Regions from separate parts of the Homo sapiens genome. Here region 1 is linked to region 2. Evidence: promoter capture Hi-C in 16 types of primary human blood cells and fetal thymus (Javierre and others, 2016). All regions are on one chromosome and are shown on one strand. Each heading gives the region's core, a stretch centred on a gene start or on the middle of the fragment in contact. The rest is flanking DNA. Distances are from core to core; before and after follow the strand shown. Region 1 overlaps RNF145 (ring finger protein 145). Region 2 holds the start of ADAM19 (ADAM metallopeptidase domain 19).

Evidence for each region. The method cuts DNA at HindIII sites, captures the fragments that hold promoters and counts their contacts. A CHiCAGO score of 5 or more calls a contact.
Region 1: a fragment that was not itself captured here is called in contact with the fragment with the promoter of ADAM19 in region 2 in 1 of 17 cell types (neutrophils); the score reaches 6.8 in neutrophils.

The regions. Positions count from the first base shown.
Region 1 is chr5:159,179,906-159,187,006 of GRCh38, forward strand. RNF145 (ring finger protein 145) reads right to left here. Exons shown (of 11, transcript NM_001199383.2): 4 at 2,055-2,146. Among named protein-coding and RNA genes, the nearest start is that of RNF145, 26 kb to the right of the region's middle. The HindIII fragment of the contact is 3,760 bases long and covers 2,793-6,552 here.
Region 2 is chr5:157,572,503-157,579,399 of GRCh38, forward strand. ADAM19 (ADAM metallopeptidase domain 19) reads right to left here and starts at 3,273. Exons shown (of 23, transcript NM_033274.5): 1 at 3,101-3,273. The coding sequence starts at 3,194. LOC124901121 (a long non-coding RNA gene) reads left to right here and starts at 2,477. Exons shown (of 2, transcript XR_007059018.1): 1 at 2,477-2,868; 2 at 3,778-4,108. RefSeq lists enhancers at 1,969-2,498, 2,735-2,814, 4,672-5,287, 5,288-5,904, 5,905-6,519 and a silencer at 2,985-3,424. The HindIII fragment of the contact is 8,826 bases long and covers 1-4,750 here.

The DNA.
Region 1 (7,101 bases), core at 3,423-5,922, 1.6 Mb after region 2:
ATTTAAAGTTGAGACTTATCCCTTACTCTAGAGTTCAGGCATTCTAGGGAAAGCATTAATTTTTACCTTTATGCTTTAAGATAGAAAACCTGCAAGTGGGAGAGAAGGTGGGGAGGTTGTGGCTGGCTTCTTTCTCTTTTTTGACCTAGCACTTCTCCCTCTCTCTCTGACTTACCAAGGATTGAAGTGGGTAGGGAAGAAGGAGAGGGAGGGAAGTAGGCAGGTTCCTACTTAACTGGACTCTTACAATGATGTGGTTGTTACTGGTGCTTCCTAGACTTGAGGTATCTAAAACTGATTTATTTTCCCCTGGACCCTTTTATGGGTTCTTCTGAAACCGTTCCTATCACTGTGGCTCTCTCACCTGCAGCAGTACCCTTGGTGCTTGGTATACACCCTCAACTGGCCATTTTTGGCTCTTTTCTCAGCTCCTGGGAATCTGGAAGGTCAATCCCTGTTGAGGTCTTCTCATCCATCTAAAAGGCCTTCTTGAACAGGACCCAAGAAAATCCTACACAGACTTTCGGGGCCACTGTCTAGTTCACAAGAAACTTACATCCTTTGCTCTACAATTTCCTGTATCAGAAGATACAGGAAAACCCTATAAGGCATTTTCATTCCACAGTCAAAACACTCAACAAGCAACTAGTCTATTGCTAGTCCTTTATATCAGATTAGAATTATAATGTAAGCCAAATATAATTTTAAATTTTCTATTAGTGTCATTTCAAAAAGTAAAAAGAAACAAGTGAAATCAACAATATATTTTATATAACCTAACATATCCTAAACATCATCATATAGACATTCAATCTATATTAAAAGTTAACAAGATGTATTAAAAGTTAACCTGGTTTGTACCAAGTCTTCAAAATTGAGTATGTGCTTTACACATACAGCACACCTTAATCTCAATTCACCACACTGCAAGTGCTAACCAGCCACATGTGGCTAGTTTTGGACAATGTAGTTTTAGATTTTGCAGGCTGAAAAGGCACAAGAATGATATAGTGGAATTCTGGCCTCCTGGAAAGGTGAGAGGTGGGTGAAGGATAAAAGACTGCACATTGGGTACAGCATACACTCCTCAGGCGACGGATGCACCAAAATATCAGAAATCACTGCTAAAGAGCTTGTCCATGTAACCAAACACCATGTGTTCCCCCAGAAACTTATCTAAAAAATGTTTTCCCAGCCTGGGCGACAGAGCAAGACTCTGTCTCAAAAAAAAAAAAAAAGTTTTTTAATGTAAGAAAATAAAAATAAAAGTGTAACTCAAAAAAAAAAGATGTTCCAGGGTGAGTCAGACACCAGTCCACAGCATTCCCCCCTTCACCACACAAGACACATAACTCCCCAAATGGTCCCCCAGTGAATCCTCTAGTGTAAAGGGCTGGGGAAGTATTTCAGAAAAAAAGAGTTCTCTCTGAAGAAATCCTCCTCTAATCTCTAATATTAGGCCTGTTAACACCTTCTACATGGGTGAGTTTCAAAGTCACAAAACAGGTTTTCTCTTACTTCCTTTTTTGCATTTTGGCATGGTACACTCTGGTAGCAGGGGTCTGGTACTTCACTTTAAATTGTATCTATATTGTTTTTAGGCCTTAGCCAACACTTCTATTTTTAACATTCTGCTACCTGAATATTTCAATCACATCTCAAGTTCTTGATGTTTCCGGACATTCATTTTTGACAATAAGGTCATGGCTTTCAACAGCAATAAGTAAATTTAAGATACTACGTGTTTCATTTTAATCTTTCAAAGTAATAATTAGCTCTATTTAAAAATTAATCTTCTCAAATACTTAAAAAACCCTTAAAAAAACACAAGCAACTGTGCACTATGTACAATATGACTATAAATACATAATCTATACATGGGGAAAAGAAGACTTAAAAAAAAAAAACCACCAAACAATGGGTATATGTGGGAAAAGTCCCCATGAATCACTTTTGAGAATTCCGTTTTAAAAAAAAATGAGTATGCATGAATTTTATAAGTTAGTAAGACTGGTCGGTTCCTACCTACACTTTAATTCTTTTATAATACTTACCTATTAAGGCTGTGGTAAACCGATTCATAGAGAGAGGTTCTAAATACATTGGTCCCTCATAGGCAAACTCCAGTTCACTCCGAACATAGTCCCTAAATAAGAAAATTGATTAGAATGTATATATTAGATACATTCCTAGCGGAATCACAATATGCTTATAAAAGCATATTATGTTAATGATACCCCTTTCCATATCTAAGGAAAAATTTAGATATGAAGAATTATATATAAATGGCCTTCATCTCTGTTTTCTGTGCACTAGAAACAGACACAACTTATTGAAATGGAATTTTACCATACAGAGAAAGCTGCCAAAGCTCCACATTATGAAATTTTCTTTCTTTTCATGGCCTTATTAAATATTTTATGCCCAGTAAAAACCCAATTGAGAGCTGATCTCTCTCAACTCTACTACACTAACCAATCACATCTAGTGATATTACACTAAACATCTCTTTTGGCTATCTTCCACCACCATCACCCCACCCTCATCTTATTTCCCTCAAAGTTTTGGCCCCGATTATATTTTATTAGTCCCAAGTAGAACCACAAACTAGTTAGAAAACTGGGGGATAGGAGTACAACCCTTAAAAATTATCATTTTCAACTCTATATGAAATCTAAGATAATTATAATATTTAAGTAGGCTACATATTTACTTTGAAGCAAATTTTACATCAAACAAAATATTCCTTTTAAAATTTAACTCATTTAACGTGTGACTACTGAGAAATAGTAAGCTTTAAGTAATAACCAGAGCCTTTACACACTCAGAAAACAGGCAGGAAGCACAACCAGGGAGAATTTAGTTTATTATCAGTAAGTTACATGGGAGTACTGGAAGACAGTTTGTCTAAAGTATTTTTGGCATCAAAGAAGGGAAGTTTGTGTAAAAAAATTCTTCCCTTTTTTTCAACTTTTAATGCTTTATTCATTGTATTTAAAAGAGAACATTTCAAGTATTTCCAAACAAACTCATATGGCTGTATTTACTTTTTCCATGAAATGACTTCCCATTAGGCAATCAAGTGGAATTCCTTTAGCACTGCATAGCCAAACAAGGAAAGACCCTCACACAATCAGCCGGAAGGGTATTTGCAAAAAAGAATCAAAACTTAAAACTAAAAATTGTTAAAAGAATTAAAACAGTTTCTGAGATTATAAAAATGCATGACTAAGTTATATGGGTGATCTAGCAATTCTCCTTTATCACTCTTAGATGATGGTTTCTAACACATAATGTATTAATTGTCTCTTTCTACTGAAAGAGGAAGCCAAATTCTCAGGAAGAATTATTGTAATGCAGTGGTTGTCAACCAAGGGGCAATTTTGCTCCTGAGGGGATATTCTACAACCTCTGGAAACATTTTTGGTTGTCACAATTGGGGAGAGGTATTACTAGCACCTAGTGTGTAAAGGCCAAAGATGCTGCTAAATATTCGTCAATGCAAAGGCTAGCCCCTAGAACAAAAAATCATCCAGTCCAAAATGTCAACTGTGCAATATTGAGTAACCCTGTTTTCATGTAGAAAGACACAAATGCAAATAACACATAAATATCTGATTACTATAGGTAACCATCAATGGAATTATATAGTTAGAAAACTAAAAAATTAAAAGAATTATGAAATTAGAACAAAATGCATATATAAATAGTATTAATACAAAGTATTTTAAAATGCTATTTGAAAAATAAATTTATACCTAAAAGAGATACAACTCTGAGTGTCAGTACTATCCAGACCTTTAAAGCCCAATAATTTCTTTTTGGTCATAGCATATCTCTCTCCAATGGATACAGTTTAAACAGGGGCCAGGAAAAATCCATACAGACAAAACACAGATTGGTGGTTGCCAGGGGCTGGGGAGAAGGGGAGATGAGAGTAACGGCTTAATGAGTACTGAGTTTTGTTTTGGGTGACAAAAATGTTTTAGAATTAGATAAAGGTGACAGCTGCACAACATTATGAATGTACTATATGCCACTGAACTGCTCACTTTAAAATGATTAATTTTATGTTATACGAATTTTACATTAGAAAAGGGAGAGAGGTCAGCTCCAAGAGCACTATCCCCAAGGAGAAAGCCACAAAGTGCCCCAGAAGGGCCTCAGTCCCAAGTGTCTCTTTGTGAGGGACAAGAAAAGACAGAAGAATTGAGGTCCCTACCATGTTTTCTTTCCACTGTTTGGTTTTGTCACATATTATTGATATTTTATAATAAAGCTCAGCAAACTAAACATTATGCTAGAATTTGATTGCTGAGACATTTGTTAATTGTTCTGCATTTTTTCATAGCCTACGTTAGTTTATCCTCTTTTTAAAAACTTTGTCTTTCTTTAGAGTTTCTTACCTTAAATTCTAATTTCACACAACAAAATTTCTAGGGATAACTAACATTCTCTGTTGCTTTTTAACTCAAAAAGAAATTACTGAATACATAAGTGCTGGCACTCTGCTAGACTCTGCTAATACTGCACATTCCATACTAGCACGCAACTTATAAACAGGGAGGGGAGATAAATACTTAGTCCTATAATTATTTAATTATGATGATGATCAGTGCTGTAAGAAAAAATACAGAATGCTGTGAGGATTTTAACGTCTTTTTTATTGATACATAAAAAGATTTTAAATTCACAGCATATTTAAAAACTACATCTTTTATTCTCTATTTCTAGGTTCTAACTTTTTCATTTAACTAATAATATTTCTATCTGCCTTTTACTTTTTTATCTTAAATACTACTTATTTTACTTCTCCTATTTCATATGGTTATTATAAAAGGTTTTAACTATTTCCTTTTCTTTTATCCAACCCTATATTTCATTCCTTTTTTAAGCCTTCTCTTAACTTTGTAATCCTTTCCATTATTTTCTTTTTAATTATTTTTGCTTTCTCTATACTCATTACTTTGCGATTTGCTGTGATTATAGGACCCTAAGGGAGGTCTGCATTCCAGAAGAATAAATGATCAACCTTTAGGCCACAATGACAGCCCTGATGTTAAGTGGTTTCCTCCCACTCGCTCTCCTTACTTTGTCCTCCTCTAGGATCCCAGGATTAGCTCTCCAATACTGTACTGCCCCCCACATTCCTGTTCAATTTAAGTCTGTATCATTCATCATAGCCTCAAAATTAGTATCATCCCTAGGCCCCTTAGAACGTTTCCCCTTTGCTCGATTCCTCTCTTTCAATACAGTCCTCCAAAATCCTCCATTTGGCTGACTCACCAAAAAGCCCCACCTCAGTAAAAACAGCCAGGCCTAGAAAGCCTGCAGACTCTCTCTTTAGGCCAGCTCAGCTTAGCATGCCAGAGTCAAGGCAGTAGTTTTGGTGACAGCTAAACTACCTAGTATGCCACACAACCACTATGGAGCTGTCACTTCTAAAAGGAGGATCTGGGCATCCCATCCCAAACTGTAGAGAATAACTGAAATAAGAATCAGGGTTAACAAAAATCTCTATATCTTACTTATGCACAAATTCCAGGTATCTCATGCTGGCATTGAGAATTCTTGGTAAATCAGTCCTAACAGGGATGGTCATTCACAACATAAGAAAAACAAGACAGTAAGCCTAAATAAGAAGGATCCAAAGTGGGAATTATCCAAAATTCCATGAGTCATTTTAGGTGAAAAATTAGTTCAAGGCAAGAGTCATAAAATTCTAACTTTTAACAACAACATATGATTCTCTTAAGACTCAGGTGAGCTATTCAAGAGAAGCATTACAATTTTTCATTTCAGAAGACTTAAAAGGTAGAATGTTTTAATATCTTCAGAAACAAGAATTCCTGCCAATCTACTTATAACTGAATAAAATATTTTCCTTCTTAAATGTTTTTTCACTTGTGGAAGGCTGATAATCACCCCAAGGCACTAATAAACTGAAAAATCTACGTCCCTAGTCCTGTATAACAGCCTCCCCTCTTTTAACTCAAACTGGGGCCACAAGGAATGTACAAGATCTATGAAAAGGGCCTCCGGCCATGGTAGCTCAAGCCTGTAATCCCAGCACTTTGGGAGGCCGAGGCAGACGGCTCACTTGAGCCCAGGAGTTCGAGAGCAGCCTGGACAACACGGTGAAACTCCGACTCTACAAAACAAAAAATACAACAATTAGCCAGGCGTGGTAATGCCTATAGTCCCGGCTACTTGGGAGGCTGAGGCGGGAGAATTGTGTGGACCTGGTAGGGGCAGGGGTTGCAGTGAGCCAAGATTGCACCACTGCACTCCAGCCTGGGTCAGAGTGAGACCCTGTCTCAAAAAAGAAAGAAAGAAAGAAAAAGAAAAGGGCCTCAGAGCTTGCAATTAGAAAAATTCTTGCTTATAAAGAGAAGTATACATGTTACAAAAAATAAATGGGTACCAAGAACAAAACCTAGTAGCTTACCACTTCAGCTAATTAAAGACCTTTATTATAACAGTCTCTTCAGCGACCTGACTCAGACACTGGACAACCTAGGAACAACTTGTACATTCTGGCTATTTACTTAAAGCTTTCAAACAACGTTAATTCCAAAGAAACCTAACCTGTTTTCACACAAAAGAGGTGTGCCAAGTTATCTTTTGCAATATGGGCAACAAGAAGCACCACTTGGTACAAGAAATCTCAGATGTTCAAATACCTGTATTTCCTTATATGCCTACTAAACACACATATACGCACACAAACATACCTACCATACCGTCAGCACTGAGCTAGCAGTTGAATAATTCATTTACCCAGAGTTTATTTAAACTGTTGACACCCTTTCTTTAGTTTCTTTCTGGCCTCCTAGATATTGAGTGCCTGTATTTGATAATGTTCAAAAGCAGAACACATGTCAAACAGTGAAACTGGTCAATTTTATTCCTGTCAAAATTAAGTTTAGAATATAAATGGTAATACTCATTTTAACAATCCAAGCTACTTGGGAGGCTGAGGCAGGAGAATCACTTGAGCCCTGGAGGCGGAGGTTGCAGTGAGCCAAGATTGCACCATTGCACTCCAGCCTGGGCAACAGAGCAAGACTCCGTCTCAAAACAAAAACAAAACAGTTGGGC
Region 2 (6,897 bases), core at 2,023-4,522:
AGATGGCCATAGTTGTTCTGTTAGAGTGGTGATTATGAGTAATTATTAACATTCTCTTCAGAATACCGATATAATGCACTTGCAGTCAACATAGATTTTAAAAATAATCTTATTGGACCAACACCAATTCATCAGACAGGCAAATATTAGAAACAATGCATTCATATATTTATCAAATATTTTCTGAGTACTTAACTATGTGCCAAGTACTATGCTATGAATAGGTGCTTAATATTCATGGAGGAACAAGACAAGCATACTGCAGGACAGGAACGGTGGCTCACAACCTGTAATCTCAGCACTTTGGAGGTCCGAGGTGGGCGGATCACCTGAAGTCAGGAGTTTGAGACTAGCCTGGCCAACAAGGTGAAACCCTGTCTCTACTAAAAATATGAAAATTAGCTGGGTGTGGTGGCGCATGCCTGTAATCCCAGCTACTCAGGAGGCTGAGGCACGAGAATCCCTTGAATCTGGGAGGCCAAGATTGCGCCAGTGCACTCCAGCCTGAGTGACAGAGCAAGACTCCATCTCAGAAATAAAAAAAAGACAAGCATCGCTCTTGCCCTGGTGGCTCTGATAAGTCTATATTATTTTAAACAAAAAGGAATTCTATAATATTTAATGGAGCATTTAATGGAATTAAATGATATCTACGATTGTAAAAAAATAGTGAAAGCAATCTAAAATCTCACCAAAAGAGGAACATAGTACATGTTAAGAAAAGGTCTCCAAAACTTGGAAATAAGGCAAGAGCAAGCAAGATGTCTTCTCAATGTTGTATCAGAGCATTGTTTAACAGACTCACCCATGGATTACTGCATTATCTAGGGGAATGTACCATTGACTTTTTATTTACCATTGATTAAAAGCTACACTCTGTGAAGTTATATAATCTATATATATCTATAGAATTCTGTCTGACAGAGATGTAAGTGATTTCAGCATAGTAAAAAGATAACCTGGCCAGGCACAATGGCTCACGCCTGTAATCCTAGCACTTTAGGAGGCCGAGGCGGGCGGATCACCTGAGGTCAGGAATTTGAGACTAGCCTGGCCAACATGGTGAAACCCCGTCTCTACTAAAAATACAAAAACTAGCCGGGTGTGGTGGCACATGCCAATAAGCCCAGCTACTCAGGAGGCTGAGGCAGGAGAATAGCTTGAACCCAGGAAGCAGAGACTGCAGTGAGCCCAGATCGTGCCACTGCATGCCAGCCTGGGCAACAGATAGAGACTCTGAAAAAAAAAAAAAGAAAGAAAAGAAGGAATGAAGGAAGGAAATTAAAAAAGAAAGATAACCAAGAATTATGGTTTGCTTCATGGGGCATCCACCATTTCTGCATCTGCCCTGGGCCACATGATTTCAACATTCTTTCTCCAATGCTTGTATCACCCCTTTCTAATGCTCCCTGAATCAGCTTTACTCTCCTGTTTGCTACCTCATTAATGAGTTGAATAAATCTTGGCCACATTTGTATGAGTCGTGTTTTTAACTTTTGAAAACTTTGTATAGAGTCATTAAAATCATGTTTTACAGAGAATTTGATGATGTGGAAAACGCTCATGGTGTGAAGTGAAAAACGCAAGACACGAAACTGTACTTATGGGTATGGTTCCAATTTTATCAATATATATCCATAGGAACACACAAAGAATGTGGAGGGGAAAAAAAACAAAATATCAACAGCAACTGTGGATTTGGGGGTTGCAGATCATTTTCTTTTACACTTTTCGTTATTTCCCAGATATTCTACAGCAAGTGTTCTCCAAGGACTCAAAACTCAGAGAAGGCGCCTGTGCTAGGAGCAGTAACTAGCTTTCCTTGTCTTTCTTCATGCTTTTCTCCTGCACTAAGCACTGACACAGGCCTGGTGCTACCCTAGAACCTCCTCTGTGCCTCAGTTTCCCCTTCGGAACAACAGCTCAAAGGGCGGTTCCTTTGAGCCCTTTGGGAGGACCGCCCGACCTCGGCCCCTGGAAGTTCCGAACTGTCGGAAGAGCTCTCAGCCTCTGGGTTTGAGGCGGCCCGGGGGTCCAGCCAGCCCACCCTCGCTCCGCCGGTGCTCGCTCTATTTGAAAACGCTGACTGTTGGTCCCCCAAGCAGCAGTCTGGAGTCAGCCCAGCCCGTCTGCAGCGGTGGAGCCAGGGCTAAGCCTTCTCCGGTCATAATGAGAGAACCCGGGCACCGCCCCCCGGGACCAAGCCTTCCGCGAAATCTGCTTATAGCCCCCGAGGGATGGAGCCGGGGAGGGGATTGGTGTCTGGGAAACTAGTCCTGAGAAACACGGACATCACCCGGCATCTTAGCTGGAAACATCGAGTCAGACCCCTTCGCTTCACAGAAGGGGAAACTGAGGACCAAAGAAGGCGGCCGTCGGGTTGGCGTGGAAAGAGAGCCCTGGTTTCCAGTGCCACCGCGGACCTCAACCCGTGGCGTGGCCTTGGGCAAGTCCTTTCCCTTTTGTGGGCCTCGGTTTCCCCATCTGTGAAATGGGTGCGTTTGACTTGGCCTTCAGTAGGGCTCCTGCCAGCTCGGGGATCCGAAGTGTGTGGCTGCAGATACCCAGCGAGCCATCCCCTAGCCAAGGCTACCACAGTCTGCCGCGGGCATTTTATGTCCTACCCCACCAGTGTGGCAGGCACCGAGCCTGGTCCCAGGAAGCCGCTCCCAGGCCACACGGGCAGGGCGCTCGGGATGCTCGGCGTTGGCGAGTGCAGCGGGCGGTAGAGAGAAAGACAGAGAGAGAGGCGGAGCGGACACGAGGGACCGTGAGAAAACGGAGGAGGATAAGCCCCGAGAACGGCGGAAAGAGAAGCCAAAAGCAGAAAAACAGAGGAAGGAGAAGGCGAGAAGGGAAGGCTAGCCAGTGAGCGGACCGGCTGTTTTCTGGCTGCGCCGGGTTTCCCCGACCTCTGCCACCTCCCAGGGCGCAGAACGTGGGAACAAAGCCCGGGCTCCCAGGCTGGGGACGGCGGGGGCGCAGGCCCCGCGGAGTTGCGGGAGGCGCAGGGGTCGCGGTCCCAGCGCTCCGGACCCGCAAGGCTACTCCCAGGTCTCCGGGCCACCCAGCCTCCATCCCCCCGCGCCTGGCCACTTACTTGTCCATCCAGGCTCCCGCGCCGCCCGCGGCCGGAGGGGCTGCAGGGCAAACGCCAGCAAGCAGAGCCGGGCGGCGCCTGCGCCCCCTGGCATGGTGGCGGCGGCCCTTAGCGCTCGGCGCTCACACGCCCTCAGCCATACCTGCCCACTGCCCGGCGGTGGAGGCGCGTCTGGAACCCCCCGGCTCGCCCCGCGCCTCCCCACCCGGCTCCCAGCCCTCTGCCGAGACGCTCCGCCTCCAGCCCCGCGGGCCTCCGCCAGGGGATGGAGGAGGGGAGGCTCCAGCCCGGAGGGGGCTGGAGGGAGGGGCCGGGGAGGAGCTGGCGAGACTCGGGGGAGCGGGGCTGGCTCAGGTGAGGGAGACCGCGGGGAAGGGAGAATCCGAGCCCCCCAGGAGGAGGGATTTGTGGTGGACGCGGCCTGTAGAGGGTCGGGGACTCGGGCTTCTAGGAGTTAAACTGGACCCCTCTCCGCACAGCGGCCCGTTTACTGTCCCGCACTGTGCCAGACGCCTTGGGTGACACTCAGAGGTGATTCACCCAGCGCCGTCCCCCGGGGGCCGCCACTCTCGGAGACAGGCTCAGAAAGAGTTAACCCAACCGCCAGGCACAAAGAACTAAGTGCTATATGGACTTCTTTTTTTTTTTTTTTTTTTTTTTTTTTTTTTTTTTTTAAGCAGGACACAAATCCAGGAGCCATTCCTTCTGCCTGGGAGGAGGGAGTGATGAAGACCAGAGGAATCCCAGAGGAGAAGCCATCTGAGATCGGGAGGAGGAGAAATGGAACATCAGGCGGAGGAAACAGCCCAGACAATCGCACTGGGACGTGAAAACCCTTGGGCTGCATGCGGGGAGAAAACCAGAATTGGGGATGGTTAGGGTTTTGGAGGGAAACACAGGGACATGTGACCAAAAATAATAATAACTACTGTTACTTATTGAGGACTTTCTATGTACTAGAATAAGAAAATCATGATAGCTAAGACTGATAAAACGCTAAGTGTCAAACGCTGTCTTCAGCACTTTACACATATTCACTTATTTAATTAATCGGAGAAAATAACTTTTATGAGCCAGGGACTCTGCATACATTATCTCTTTTCATTAGCCCAGTAATCCCATGGGGTAGGTACTAGTACTATCCCTGTTTTAGAAATGAGGAAATCAAACCTGAGAGGCTAAACCACTTGCCCAAGATTACACAGCTAATGTCAGTGCCTAGATTCAAACCCACATCCGTATAACTCCAGAGCCTGATGCAACACACCTTATTTTCCAGGTGGAGAAACTGATAATGAGAGAGAAATGACTTGCCTAAGATCCCTCAGCAAGTTTTAGCAAAGCCTCGTTGTAGAATCCCAGCCTCAAACCTCGTCCATCTGTTCCTTTTTCTGAGCCTCTTTAGTCAAACCCAGGTTGACTAGAGAAGTGCTAAGTGTTGGAGAGGGCGAGGCACTCCTGAAGATGATGGGTAGGTAGGTCTATCAAACCCTACTCATGGGCACCCATGAGGGAAATCAAATAAGTGGTTCTGGCCATTAATGTCGTTTGGGACTCCGTTAGTCTCCAGCTGCTGTAAAATTCGTATCTTTCTGTGAACCCGAAATATCTGAGATAGGTCTCAGTCAATTTAGAAGGTTAATTTTGCCAAGCTTAAGAACGTGCTCATGACACAGCCTCAGGAGGTCCCAACATGTGCCCAGGGTGGTGGGGGTGTAGCCTCCTTTTATATATTTTGGGGAGACATGAGACATCAATCAATATGTGTAGGATGTACATTGCTTCCGGTCCGGTAAGGCAAGACAACTCCAAGCTGCAGAAAGGGTGGTGCTTCCAGGTTATAAGTAGATAAGAAACAGAAGAGGTTACATTCTTTTGAGTCCTTGATCAACCTTCCACTGAATACACAATTTAGTCTAGCTCAGTGAATCTACATTTTTACATAAACAATAGGGCAGAAGAAGCAATCAGATATGCATTTGTTTCCGGTGAGCCTCAGAGGGATGGCTTTAAATTCTGTCTGTCCTTTGTCCACAAGGAATTTCCTTGTGTGAAAATTGTGAGGAAGGTATGTAGCTGTTTCTCTTTGTAGCTATCTTATTTAAGAATAGGATGGTGGCCTGGCATTGTGGCTTAGGCCTGTAATCCCAGCACTTTGGGAGGCCAAGGCGGGCAGATCACCTGAGGTCAGGAATTCGAGACCAGTCTGACCAATGTGGCGAAACCCTGTCTCTACTAAAAATACAAAAAAAATTAGCCAGGCGTGGTGGCACACCTGTAATCCCAGCTACTCAGGAGGCTGAGGCAGGAGATCGCTTAAACCTCGGAAGGGGAGGTTGCAGTGAGCCAAGATCACGCCACTGCACTCCAGCCTGGGCGACAGAGTGAGACTCTATTTCAAAAAAAAAAAAAAAAAGAAGAAAAGAATAAAATGGGGGACAGGTTTGCCTGACATTGTTCCCAGCTTGACTTTTTCCTTGGCTTAGTGATTTGGGAGTCCTAAGATTTATTTTCCTTTCACACTTCTCGCGTGCAGAATATATCCACCCCATCCCAGCAGCCCAAATGTCTTCACTCATTCCAGCATTAATTCCAAGTCTGAAGTGTCATCTAAATTTCATCTGTATTAGATATGGGTGAGACTTGAAGTTTGTTTCATCCTGAGGCAAAATTCCTCTCAGCTTCCAAATACAATGTGGTGGGAAAGGCATAGGATAGACGTGCTGATTCCAAAAGAGAGATACTGAAAAGAACAAGGTGACAGTCCCCAAAAGTGCAAAACCTAGCAAGGCAAATTCCATCAGATCTTAATGCTCTACAACAATCTTCTTTGGCTGGATATTCTGCCCTGTAGGCCCACTGGGTCAGCAGTGTCACCCCCACAGCACCAGGCAGTGGCCAGCACCATAGCTCTTTGTCACAGTCCCCCACCCCAAGGCACTGGGCAGGGGCAGCCTGGCCTGCTCAAGAGAAGGAGACTCCACCCTTTCACTCCCTGCCTCCCCAACAGCCCGCTGTGGTGGGAGTGGCAACCCTGATGATCTGTGAATCATTTTTCTTAAAGAATGAAGCGAGCTGTATTGTCCTGTCCCGTAGAACAAAATTCTAAAAGCCTTCCTTTGTTTCATCCTGTCTTTATTCCTTTTGGTCTAAATTGGCAATGTCTTTGCTGGTAAAACCCATCTCTATTTCTGACTTCTAATGAGATGGCTGACTAGCTCCATGGGTTATTGTCCAGCCACACCCTTAGTGTCCTCTCCAGAAAATCCTTTTTTATTTTTTGCAATATGAATAGGCCAATAATTTTCCAAATCTTCAAGTTCTGTTTCCTTTTTGCTTAGCAATTCCTTCCATTTATCTCCATCCACTCACATTTTACATAAGTACCGAGGAGAAGCCAGGCCTCATCTTCAACACTTTGGAAATCTCTGCAGCTAAATATTTAAGTTCATCACTTGCAATTTCTACTTTCCACAAAACACTAGAACACAATTGGTGGTGGAGAAAACACAAACTCAAAGTGCTTTTTCCTCTTCTCTCACTCAACACAACAACAATCAACAGAGAAGACTTCTGTGATCAAAGATGTGGGGGCTTTCCCCACACACCAAGCAGCAGTGAATTTAGACACTATAGATAGCATCAGATCCCACAGGTTGAGGTCTCAGTTTCCAAGACTGGGCCCCCTTCAGACACCAGACGTGTGTTCTTCCAGAACTTCTGACCAACTGGCTTCCAGTTGGGGTTCCCAGGACACCTCTTTGGGTTCAATTAGTTTACCAGAGCAGCTCACAGAA